Linked DNA regions of Homo sapiens: all the other regions are linked to region 1. The links are contacts of gene promoters, found by promoter capture Hi-C in blood cells and fetal thymus (Javierre and others, 2016). All regions are on one chromosome and are shown on one strand. The core of a region is centred on a gene start or on the middle of the fragment in contact, and the rest is flanking DNA. Distances in the headings are between cores, read along the strand shown.

Region 1 (3,016 bases), core at 225-2,724:
AAAGGGAGCTTGGCCGGCGGGGTCACCTTCCCGTCCTCTGCCCCGGGCGGGGTCCAGCGGGCGCCCCGCGCTCACTGTAGCCTCGGCGGGCCTCTTAATTCCGGCGGCCCGGGTGTCCCCCCGCTCCGGAGCGGGCCCTTTATCCGGCCCCTGGGTCCCCGCCCGCGGGAGCCCTGGAAAGTTGGGCGCGGGAGGCGGGGCGCGAGCAGCAGCTCCCGGGTGGGTCCCGGCGGGCCGCGGGCGGGGTCGAGGCCGGGGCCAGGGTCGAGTCAGTGCTTCGGGCCGGCTGCGAGCCCTGTGCCTAGGACACCGACGACCCGGCAGCCCCGCAGCTGCTTTTCGTCTTCCCAAAGTTGCGTGCAAGCCACGGCAGCAATTAATAATTAAGCCCGTAATAAAGGCCCGGCCGGGACTGAGGCGCCCCCTTTTTCGGCACTGCCTCTCTTAATTAAAAGACACAGAGCAGGGCGCCCAGGAACTGGCTGTATCCTTTGCCCCGGCGCTGCCGCCTGTGGCGACCCGGCCGCCGCCGCCCCCAGCCCAGACGGCCAACTTACTCCGGAGCGGGCGGACCCCGCGAGCCCGCGGTCCTCTCTTCCCGCCTTCCCGCCGCCTCTGCTCCCCCCACCTGCGCGCCGCTCAGTTCCAGGTTCGACTCCACGCCGGCCCCAAACCAGTGCCTGCGCCCCCTCACCTCCCGACCCCCTCCCGGCGCCGGGAGAAGTTTCCAGCCGGACTGGCCGGGAGTTTCTCTGTGCAACTCACAGGCTCCCAGTTTGCAGAGAGATGGGAGGGCACGGGATGGGGGTGGCTCTAAGCGGTGGCGGTGGAATTGGGGTGGGGGAGAGGCGCGGGAGCAGGGTTAGTTTCCTTTTCCGAGACACATCCGAGCATCCTTGCAACATCCCTCCCCGACACACACACACACACACACACACACACACACACACACACACACACACTCTGTCTCTCTCTCACACACACACACACACACACTCTCACACACACGACGGAAAGGACCCGGGGGAAGCTGGCCAGAAAGACAAGCTACCCCTTTAAGATGCTGCTAAGAACGCACCCTCACACACCCCTCTGGGGCGACTCCAGTTCTCAGCTCGTAGCAGCCGCCACCAAACAACTTTTGCATCCGAGCCTTTGCCGGGCCGCTGTAAGTGGCTCCCGGGCCCGGGCAAGCCTGCATGGTCACCGAAGCCCTTTAAAAATGAAACCGGCCTGGCCAAGCTGCAGCCTCTCCCCCCGCCCGCCTCCCGGGCTCTCCCCGCCCGCCTTACCCCGGCTCGGAGCGGCTTCCCGGCGCGGAGACCTGGGAGGGCCGAGGACCGCCACCCTCCGGCGCTGCGCCTCCCCCCTCGGGCTGGCGCTGGGTGGGGGCGCGGGCCGAGGGCTGCGAGCCGCTGCTCCTTCCCCGCGCCGCTCCCGCCGCTGTGGCCGCCGCCGCCGCCGCCGTCAGATCGGGGCCAGGGAGCCCTCCGGCCGCCGGGGGGGCCGCCCGCAGCCGTCCCGGAGACGCGGGCCGGGGGAGGGGGCCGCCCGCGCCGCCCGCATCGCCCGCCCGGGCTGAGCGGGAGGTCGCCGCTAACAAGTGCAAACTTTTTGGCCCCCCTGGGCGGCCCGGGGAGGACCCGCGCTCGGGCGCCGGGCAGCCCCCGGCCCGGGTGGGCTTCGCGGCGTCTCGTCGGGGAGCCGGGGCATCCCCCCGGCGCGGCGCGGGCCAGATGGCGGGCGCTTCACTGCCCCCCTGCACTCCGCTCCAAGTTAATGCCGAGGCTAAATCCTCTTGCCATCACTCACGATCACCATCGGGGCTTTTATCTCTCGGTCTGATCCGGGCTGCGTAACTTCCTCTGTGTGGCTTTAACACACCATCCCACCACGGAGCAACGGTCTTCTTAAAGGTGCAGGAAGGAAATATTGCGCGGCTCGGGGGACGCGCCACGGCCCGGGGAGGGGCGCGGCGAGCAGGGGCGTCCCGGCGGGCCCGTGGCCAGGGTGGCCCCGGCAGCCTCTGGGGGGTCGCTGCCTAAACATCGCCTCCCGGCCCGGGGGCCAGCGGGTCCCTGCGCCCAGAGCGCATCCTCAGCCGGCTCCGGTCAGGCGCAGCCGGGCTGCAGCTTCCTCTTCCAAAACCCGGGGGCCTGCCGGGGTGCCAGCGCCCATGGGTGTGGGGGCTGCCCCATCGGCACGAGGGAGGGGGGCCAAGTGAGTCAGTTCCCCCACCCCCCACAGCCAAGGGCTCAGGGCTGCTCCTCGGTCTCTCTCTGTGAAGTGCTGCCACCCAGAAGGCCCCAAGCAGTGGGTACCGGGGTGGGTGGGTGGATTTGGGGAGATGGGGAGGGGGAGCGATCTGAGCGCACAACCAGAGCCTGAATACCAGCTGACACATCGCCGCCTCCACCCTGATGGGCCCTGCTTTTGACGAAGCCAAGCCAGCTCTGCAGGGAGTGCAGAGTAGTGGGGCAGGAGGGGCCTGGCTGAGGGGTTCTCTGTCTCCCTCCCCTGCAAGCATGGGAGGCAGGTGTGGGAGGGCTCCGGTAGCAGCAGCCCCGGGCAGAGGCCACCGAGTTCACAATATCATATCCGGCAGCCCTGGGCTCTCTGATCCCCAGGAGGTTTCCTGCCAGCCTGCCTCCCAGGGCTTCTGGGAGAGTTTCCACATCTTCCAGAAGCACATGTGGTTTTCGGACACTCCTGGCCTCCTGGGGTGGGCTCACTGCAGCCTTGAGCAGCCAGCACTGTCATTTGGATGCATCAAGAACAAAGGGCCTGAGGACAGACAGAGAGAGAGGCAGAGAGAGAGAGACCAGCCCAAGGTCACAGAGGGTGTTGGGAATGGAGCAAGACATGGCACCTCAGTGCCCCGCCCTGCTGCCACCCTTCACCTCCACCTTAACCCTTCCCTGTTCTCAGCTGCCCTGAAAACTGGAGACGGAGTTATACTGCTGAATAATATTTGGAATCTTGTGACAAAACAGGAAGAGGATGCAGAATTAAAGAC
Region 2 (3,189 bases), core at 295-2,794, 350 kb after region 1:
AAACCCCGTCTCTACTAAAAATACAAAAACTAGCTGGGTATGATGGCACACATCTGTAATCCTAACTATTCAGGAGGCTGAGGTAGGACAATGGCTCGAACCTGGGAGGCGGAGGTTGCGGTGAGCTGAGGTCTTGCCACTGCACTCCAGCCTGGGTGACAGAGTGAGACTCCGTCTCAAACAACGGCAGGACCTGTGACGCCCTGAACTCTTGCCATGGGTCAGCCCTGTGCTGCAGGAAGAGCCCACGTAATCCCCAGCACACCCCTGGGAGGTGGGAATTACCACTGATTATTACCCACATGTTACAGACCAGGAAGCTCAGAGAGGTCAGGAGACCCAGCCAAGGTCACACCGCTAGGCAGTGGAGAAGCTGGGACTGAACGCCTCATCGCATGGTCTGGCTACCTCCTCCTGCCACCTCATCCTTTGTCAGAGGCCAGTGACTCACGGGCAGAGCAGCCCCAGCCTCAAAATCTCAATGCCTGAAATATCACCATCATTGCCTGATATCTTTGGCCGAAGCCTACTCTTTAATGAATACCGCCTCCCACTGGGGAGAACCCACTGTGTGCCTCAACTCTTCTGTGGGAAGGAGTTTGAAATCCGTTCCCAAAACTAGGGAGAGACTTCTGCTTCTACAATGGAGGGGACAGAGCACTTCAGGGGAAAAGCAGCTGGTACAGGGAACAGAGAAGGGAACTAGCGTTATTAAGGACTTATTTTGTGCCAGGCAATTTTATAAACATCTTCTCGTTGCATCCAGCAGGAATTCTTATCTCCACTTTACAGATGAGGGTTGGGGAAACTGAGTCTCCAGTGCTGTGAGCCACTGGACACAGTGCGGCTGGTTAACGTGCAGCTGGGTATCTTATCGGGGTCTGATGAGGGGAAAAGGGCAGTCTTGCGGAAGCTCAGGGCAGGTGCCGGCAGCCCGGGCACAGGGAGGGCTTGACGTCCTGTGGGGACTCCAGTCCTCCTCGTTCTTCCTGAAGGCTGTACTGGCTGTGGACAGAGAGTGGCCAGAGGGGAGCAGAGGCAGCTCCTCGCAGAGGTCACCAGGCTGGAGCGGAGCCGCTGCTGCCAACCGTGCCTGCAGCCCGTGGCCCGAACGCCTTCCAGGTCTCTGCAGGGCCTCACCCGCCCTGCCAGCTCCGGGCAGCTGCTGCTTTGGGGCAGCCAGGGAAAATTCCTCACCTGACCCCTAGCCAGAGATGAGAGGTGTCCAGGCCTCAGAACCGCTGCCCTGCCTCCCCCACCACCGGCCACTAAGCACCCCCTGTGCCAGGATCTGTGCCAAGGGCTCTGTGTGCTGTGTCATCTCAGCGACTCCTCCCCCTGCCCTGTCCAAGGAATAGGTGACAACACCTGCTCGGAGAGCTAACTCAGCTTTCTCAAGGTCCCCGCTAAGCCAGCCAATGGCGCCAGAGTGAAAATGTGAATTCAGGCTGGGTCTGGAAACCCTCTCTAAACTGCTGAATTCCAAGTCAGGGACTCTGGCCTCGTGAGAAGCAGTCGCCTTTTCCATGCCAGTGTCCTGAACTTTTCGGGGTCACTCTCAGGTGAGAACAGTTTCGTGGGAGCCTCTATGAGCCAAGCCTTGTGCTGGGCTCAGGGTAAAACAGTGACAAAGGGGGACGACATCCCTGTTCCAGTGGGTCCTACAGTCAGGTGGGGCAGACGAGGCATGAATCAAGCAATCTTAGAGAGACCGGGTGGCATTCAAGGCTCAAAGCTCGCCCTGAGGGAAAGGGGTGAGCATTGGTGACAACCCAGGATGAAGCAGCGTGGACCGGCCCCGGGGTCAGGGAGGGCTGGGGTTGACATCCGATCCCCAGGGTGTCCATAGAGAGAGGCCAGCAGCTGAGGTAAGGGAGGAGAGAGCACTGTGCAGAAAGGACTGTGAGTGCAAAGGCCCTCGGGGTTGGAGGCAGAGCACGGAGGGCTCCGGGAACCAGGTCAGAGTGGCTCCAGACAGGGAGGCATGAGATGAGGCTATGATGGAACGTGGTGAGGATGGCGGGCCTGATCCTAAAAACATTGGAATTTATTGGCAATTGGCCAGGCGCAGTGGCTCATGCCTGTAATCTCGGCACTTTGGAGGCCAAGGCGGGCGGATCACCTGAGGTCAGGAGTTCGAGACCATCCTGGCCAACATGGTGAAACCCTATCTCTACTAAAAAATACAAAAACATTAGCTGGGCATGGTGGCAGGAGACTGTAATCCCCGCTACTTGGGAGTCTGAGGCAGGAGAATCGCTTGAACCTGAGAGCCAGAGGTTGCAGTGAGCTGAGATTGTGCCACTGCACTCCAGCCTGGGCAACAGAGCAGGACTCCATCTCAAAAAAAAAAAAAAGAAAAAAGAAAAACAGAATTTATGGGCTATTGCATGTGGGGAGGCGTTGACATGATAAGCACATTCATTAATAGCTACATGTTCTGCCCAGTGCTTCTCCTGCACTAAATGGCCCCAAAATGCACGGTCCCATACCCACCTCCTTTTTTGTTTTGTTCTGTTTTGTTTTGTTTTAGAGATGAATATTCACTATGTTGCCCGCCTCAGCCTCCCAAAATGCTAGGATTACCAGTGTGAGCCACTACATCCAGCCCTCATTTATTTTGTTGACAGCTGTTGTCTCTTTGCTACCAAGGGTCCACCCCTAACAGGAGCAGGTGCCTGCTCAAGAGCTCGTCTGCTCTGCTGCGGGCTGGCTGCAGACACCTTCGTTTCTCCTCATAGCTGTAACAGTCCTGTCTGAGCAAAGTGCACAGGTTTTACAGCAACTCTTCCCACCCTACCCTCAAGGGATTTTGCTTACTCTTTTGCTGCATCTGGCCTCTGGGTGGCACTTGCCCTGCTGAGCCTCACGCTGTCACCCCTCTCCTAGGAGAAGCAGGTGATGGCCCAGGAAGCCTAATCCCAGTGACACACAGGCCACCCACCCTCCGTCCTGCCCACACCTCCGGCAGCTCCAGCTCATTCAGCCTCAGGGAATCCCGGGGCCTTGTCCCATGCAACCGGCCAGCTGTGGTGTGAGCGAGGGACTGAAAGCCCGTATGTGACCAGCTCTGGTGATGAGATCCCCCTGCCCCCGCCTGGCACATGTTCATTCATTCCAGGTACGGTCAGCACTGAGTCCTCGAGGGCCTGGAGCACCGCGGGGGAGACATCCCGGTCAAGCTGAGTT
Region 3 (2,996 bases), core at 123-2,622, 290 kb after region 1:
AAACACTTGAGTACTTAACTTTCCCTGTTTACTAATCTTGTGAGGAAATACTCCGAATAGTAGAGGCGCCCGCTCTTCTAGCTTGGCCTCGGGGGCTGTGTGCTGGCAGATAATGCCCTCAGCAGGTGCGTTAGGAAGAGCGTCTCTGTTCAAGCTCAGCTCCCCCAGGCGCTGCTCGGCCACAGTCCTGTCCCCTGGTGGTGGGAAGCAGGCAGTGGCCCGCAGCGGCCCTTGAACCTGCACCCAAAATCATCTCAGGGAGCCTGTGAACTCCTGGGTCCTGGTCCCCAGCCTGGTCCACCAGCCAGGAGCTGGAAGGCGGTTCCCAGCAGTCAGCCTCCAGCGTCTGTTCCTCACCTGCATGCTGCGTCGCCAGCCTCCACTCCGGCCCAGGAGCATGCCCCCTGGGGCCAGATGATGCCCATGACCTTTGGGCACTCGGGAGCCCCTGAGGACAATCCCTGGATCACTGAGAAATACAAGGGCCCCTGTTTTAGAATGCCTGGCAGGAACTGTAAGTTTCCATTTAAATCAAATCAAATACCCCAAGTTGAAAGTATTCAGAAAATTCGGAGGAAAAAAGATAGGAAAGAGGTGCAAGGTTGGCCCATAACCCCAGCACTTTGGGAGGCAGGAGGATCATTTGAGCCTAGGAGTTCAAGACCAGCTTGGACAACATGGCAAGACCTCGTCTTTACTAAAAATTAAAAAACTAGCCAGGCGTGGGGGTGTGTGTCTGTAGTCCCAGCTATTTGAGAGACTGAGGCAGGAGGATCACTTGCGCCCAGGAGTTCGAGGCTGCGGTGTGCTGTGATCAGACCACCACACTCCAGCATGGGTGACAAGTACAAGGTCACCCCTGAAACAGAGGACAAGGGTCTTGCTGTGAATGGTGCCGTTGTTCCTGTACCAGGCTGGTGACTGGCATTGCCATCTTCTTAACTTTTCCCCTTCAAGGAGCCCAACAGGCCCTTGCTTTTTAAAGAGGAAACTGCTGAGGACAATAGTGTATTAAGAGGGTTTTTCTCCCCAGTCCTTTCTGTGTCATTACAGTGTCCTTTATTCTTCCCTTACTGCTACAGAACAAACCTCTATCTGGTCAACATAAAACCTGGAATCTGGGAGTTAAGCTTAAGTGAGAAATCATCTTGCTAGGCCTAAACCTGTTATCTTTGCCCCCACCGCAGGAGAGGGCCTGAGTAGGAAAAAGCGTGTGGGTGCTGCATACCGAATGTGGGGTGTATGGTAGGGTGAGCACCGAATCCGGGGCGTACAGCAGGACGCACACCTGGATCCAGGGCTCACAGTAGGATGCACACTGAATCCCGGGCACACAGTGGGATGCACACTGAATCTGGGGTCCACAGTAGGACCATCCCACTCTCCCCGCCCTGCACCTTTTCTCACACTACACTTTTTCATTCCCTCGATGAATGTGTGGGCATGCCCACCTGATGCAGCCGCCTTGTATTTGCCCGATTTCCCCTTCTTTGTCCACAGCAGGGAGACTCATTCAATCTGGAGGTCTTCTTGAGGGCCCACCGGTGTCTCTGTCAGACCGTTTGGAGGGTTGGGGCCAGCACATAGCAGGGAGCCAGACAGGTTGAAGCTTCTGGCTGAGAGGTGGAAGGAACATTGTATAAGTGACAGGAACTGGGGTGTAAGTGAGGAGACTTGTTATCCAATCCCATCTCCACCCTCAAAGTGCTGAGGTCCAGTCCCTTCTGGGGAGGAGAGGGCCTGGAAATGGCACTTTTCTTCATCCCCCCACAACCCCTGTCCACCCCAAGAGGCCTGGAGTGGGGGGCCCATGAGGCTTGGGGCATAGAGTCTGGGCACTCAAGCTGGGGTTCAGAAGGTCGGAACAAACTCCTGCTGTGCCACCTAGCAGCTCCTTGGCTTGGGCAAGTCACTTAACCTCCCTGTGACTTAGCCCCCTGACTTAGAAGTCCCAAACGTGAGAGTACCTCTGTCATAAGGTCATCGTGGGGATTCAGCGGGCTAAAACCACGAGGGGACACATTTGGCGGGCGCTTGCCATGCGTCGTACACTTGAGGTCTGTATGTCAGTGCACTGTCCCTGCATCGGCCCATTTAATCCTCGCCCAAGGTCACACAGCTCACAAGGGACAGATCCAGAGGCTGGGCTCCTGTTGGAGGAGCCACACACCCTGAGCTGTGCAGCGTAGACCAGCTCTTGCACAGGATTAGTGCTCAGTAAATGGCGATGTGGGTTGTTGCTGTTATTGCAAGCAGTGCCACTCTGGGTTTAGCTAAAATAACTCATGATCTCCAAAGCACCCTCCAGCTCTGATTGTAGGAGGGGGGCTGTCAGGAGCTCCATGCACACAATATGGCAGAGGAGCTTTGGGAGACTGTTTTGACTGGCATCTCCTTTTCCAGCACGTTGACTGGCAGCTGTTTCAAGGTCTCTTGAAAGAGTCCCTACTCCCTCCCTAAGCTCCATTCTCTCCTGGGTTTGGATATGCTGAGAGAGGGTAGGGAAAACTGAAAGGAACATTGATCAAGTGGACTGGATCTGTTGGCAGGCAATGGAGATGTCACCCTTCTCAAAGTAAATCACTGCAGGTCACCATTGAGACGGGACACACCCCAAATGAGGCATCTGAGACTTCTCTGCCTTGGGGTGAACCAGGCGCCTCCCAGTGAAACCCCTCCCTGCATCACCCTCTGCCCCTCTTTGTGAGGCCTGTCTCCCCATCCCCGCATTCCTCTTGCTTCAGGGACCCCTGCCTCACTGGTTTATTGCTACCCTCCTGCCTTCTCCTCCCTCCCTTTCCTTGGGCTTGCATCCCTTTGATGTTTTTACAAGCCTTTTTTCAAACCTGCACTCACTGGTGGGTGAATCGCCTCCCTCTCCTTGGGAGCATTAGTGCCCTTCCTGGCCTCCGCCAAGGGGGAGGGCGGCTTTTATCTCCCAGCGGAATCTCATTAGCTTTGCCGCACAATGGGACCGAACCTCGGCTGCCACAGAG
Region 4 (3,242 bases), core at 234-2,733, 330 kb after region 1:
CTGGGAACCAGGGACCGAGGGGAACCGTTCTGGGATGGGTGGCGACCCTGGACACCAAGGCACATGGCGGTGCCCGAGGGGTGGTGCTGCCTGGTGGCAGCGGAGGGGAGAAACCCCCACACAGCTCAGGCCGGGCAGCGATGGCAGTGGTGTCTTCACCAACCACTTCCGCTGGAGCCCATTCTTCCCTCCCAGCCTCACGGGCTCCGAGCTGGGTCCTCTGGCCTCCAGAGGTTCTGGGAGTCCCAGTGCCCTTGGAATGAATTCATTTTCTGCTTAAATCAGCTGGAAACTATTTCCGTGGCCTACAAATAAGAGCCCTGTCAGTTGTTGGAATTTCTCTTCGTGCTTTTCTCTAGTGAATTTCCAGGGCAGAAAAATGGGCTATAACGTTCTTCTTTTAATAAGTTGTTTTTAAAAAACTATTACATCAATAATACATGTTCACTATTTTAAAAAGCAAGAAATAAAGAATAATACAAAGAAGAAATAAAAATTTTTCAGCACCCAGAGATAATAAGCACAATTACTATTTTGAGGTAAACCCTTTCAGAGACAGATACAGATTTTTTTTATTACAAGAAAATGGGATGATATTATATGCCATCTTCTGACTGGCTCTTTTACTTGCTGGCATATCATGAGCTTCTTTTAATGTCAATAAGCATATGTTTACATCTTTTTTGGGGGGGTTGGGACACAGTCTTACTCTGTCGCCCAGGCTGGAGTGCAGTGGCACAATCTTGGCTCACTGCAACCTCCACCTCCTGGGTTCAAGCAATTCTCCTGCCTCAGCCTCCAGAGTAACTGGGATTACAGGCATCCTCCACCACGCTCGGCTAATTTTTGTATTTTTAGTAGAGATGGGGTTTCACCATGTTGGCCAGGCTGGTCTTAAACTCCTGACCTCAGGTGATCCGCCCGCCTCGGCCTCCCAAACTGTTGGGATTACAGGCGTGAGCCACTGCGCCCGGCCTACATCTTTTTAAATAAATGCCTACGCCATCAAATAATTTTTCTGCATCGATAAAGATGATCATATGATTTTTCTTTTTTTAAATTTTTTATATAGAGACAAGATCTCACTATGTTGCCCAAACTGGCCTTAAACTCCTGGCCTCAACTGATCCTCCCACTTCAGCCTCCCAAAGTTCTGGGGTTACAGGAGTGAACCACTGCACCTAGCCAATTTTTCTTTTTATTATGTTTTTTGTTTTTTATTTTTTTATTGAGACAAGGTCTCACTATCACCCAGACTAGAGTGCAGTGGCATAAACACAGCTTACTGCAGCCTCAAACTCCTGGGCTCAAGTGATTCTCCTGCCTCAGCCTCCCAAGTAACTAGGACTATGGGTGTGCACCACCATGTCCAGCTAAGTTTTTTTTTATTTTTAGTAAAGGCAGGGTCTCACTATGTTTCCCAGGCTGCTCTCCAACCTGGAGGGTTCAAGCAATCCTCCCACCTCGGCCTCCCAAAGTGTTAGGATTATAGGCGTGAGCCTCTGACCCTGGTCTGTGATTTTTTTTTTTTTCTTTTTTGAGACAAAGTCTCATTCTGTCACCCAGGCTGAAGTGCAGTGGTGCGATCTTGGGTCACTACAACCTCCGCCTCCCAGGTTCCAGCGATTCTCCTGCCTCAGCCTCCCAAGTAGCTGGGATTACAGGCATCTACCACCACACCCAGCTAATTTTTTTGTATAGTAGAGACGGGGTTTCACCATGTTGGCCAGGCTGGTCTCAAACTCCTGACCTCTAGTGATCCTCCCGCCTCAGCCTCCCAAAGTGCTGGGATTACAGGCATGAGCCACTATGCCCGGCCATGTGATTGATTTTTGACTGTTAAGCCAACCTTGCATTTTGAAATAAATCCCACTTGGTTGTGATATTGTTTTATTTGACTTGCTAATATTTTTTAAGGATTTTCACATCCATTTTCATGGGAAGAGTTGACCCATGATGTTTCTTTGTTGTAATGTCTTCATCAGAATTTAGCATTAAAGTTTTGCTAGACTCATAACATGAGTTAGACAGTGTTCCTGCTTTCTGTCTTCTCTGGGAGATTTGATGTAAGACTGGGATCCTTTCTTCCTTCAGTGTTTGGTGGAATTCACCAGGGAAGTCATCTAGGCCTGGAGTTTTCTTTGCCCGATCGTTCCTAATTTGGGGCTCAATTTCCTTAATGGATATGTTTTTTTTTTCTTGTGACAGCTTTGGTAAGTTGTGTTTTTAAAATACTTTGCCTATTTCCTTTAATTCTCAAATGTATCCACATAAGCTGCTCTGCTCTCTTCGTCCATTCTGTTTAAACATTAGACCTCTGTATGATTACAAGAGGTTTCTGTATGATTAGAGGTTTACGCACTGTATGCCTGTATCATACAGTGCATAGTATGCCTGTATCATACAGTATCTAGCCCTCACCAAAGTATATCAGCATGTCTTTTGTATGTGTCTGTCTTTGTCATCTCCTCTGCCCCCCACTGAACTGTGAACTCCCCACCCCCAGGCGTAGGGACCAGATGGAACTCACTGCCCAGACAGGACACATCTAGGCACCATTGAACTGAGGCCAGAGTGAACGGTCGCACTTCAGAATTTCAGGGGCAGCTCCCACTGGCTGCTGACTGCTTTAAATGGGCCTCAGATCACTTTGAAATGGAGCTTTCAGATGCCGTTTGCATGGAAACATCTAAGAGCTCCCCAGGTCCACCAAGCCAGAGAAAGTCATTGATAGATTAGTTTGAATGAGGATTAATCAATAATTTATGCTGATGTTTTTCCTCATACAGCAAAGAGGCCTTTTTTTTATATGATTTGACAGGGTCAGGCACACCTTGGTTTAATTAAACCTCATACAGAAAATTAAAAAAAAAAAAATGCCTACCAACCCCTGGGTGATTGGTTACCAAAGATGGACTCAACCTGCAATCGATGAGGAGGGACGGAGGAGCAGACCGGGCTGTTGAGTGAAAGTCCAGATTCAGCAGATGCCTCTGCAAGGCTGCCCTGATGGGCACGGCGAATGTAAGTACACTTATTGGCATCTTCTCATAACATGGCTTTTAGGAGGCCAGCCATTCGCACGCGATGATGGATGGTTTTGCTGGCGGGAACCAACGTCTGGAAGCCAACTTTGCCGAGGCCTCCCTTGGAGGAGCCGGAATGCTGAAACCGACATCCTCGGAGCAGACATCAAAAGCAGCGCATAAAATTTAATGATCAACCTCTTCCCAGCAAAACGG

What was found. Contacts are between HindIII fragments. The CHiCAGO score rates a contact against its expected background, and 5 or more counts as called.
Region 2: a contact is called between a fragment that was not itself captured here and the fragment with the promoter of NTNG2 in region 1, in 4 of 17 cell types (endothelial precursors, M1 macrophages, M2 macrophages and 1 more). The highest score is 8.4, in endothelial precursors.
Region 3: a fragment that was not itself captured here is called in contact with the fragment with the promoter of NTNG2 in region 1 in 1 of 17 cell types (endothelial precursors); the score reaches 6.6 in endothelial precursors.
Region 4: a fragment that was not itself captured here is called in contact with the fragment with the promoter of NTNG2 in region 1 in 4 of 17 cell types (endothelial precursors, M1 macrophages, M2 macrophages and 1 more); the score reaches 7.2 in endothelial precursors.

Annotation. Positions count from the first base shown.
Region 1 is chr9:132,160,516-132,163,531 of GRCh38, reverse strand. It overlaps NTNG2 (netrin G2), which reads right to left and starts at 1,474. Exons shown (of 8, transcript NM_032536.4): 1 at 1,293-1,474. LOC124902291 (a long non-coding RNA gene) reads left to right here and starts at 1,832. Exons shown (of 2, transcript XR_007061826.1): 1 at 1,832-1,916; 2 at 2,929-3,016. The HindIII fragment of the contact is 8,295 bases long and covers 1-3,016 here.
Region 2 is chr9:131,810,467-131,813,655 of GRCh38, reverse strand. No RefSeq gene overlaps it. Among named protein-coding and RNA genes, the nearest start is that of RAPGEF1, 72 kb to the right of the region's middle. The HindIII fragment of the contact is 6,192 bases long and covers 1-3,189 here.
Region 3 is chr9:131,869,433-131,872,428 of GRCh38, reverse strand. The region is part of intron 6 of MED27 (mediator complex subunit 27); the gene reads left to right. Among named protein-coding and RNA genes, the nearest start is that of RAPGEF1, 130 kb to the right of the region's middle. The HindIII fragment of the contact is 479 bases long and covers 1,133-1,611 here.
Region 4 is chr9:131,828,361-131,831,602 of GRCh38, reverse strand. No RefSeq gene overlaps it. Among named protein-coding and RNA genes, the nearest start is that of RAPGEF1, 90 kb to the right of the region's middle. RefSeq lists an enhancer at 3,042-3,242. The HindIII fragment of the contact is 6,586 bases long and covers 1-3,242 here.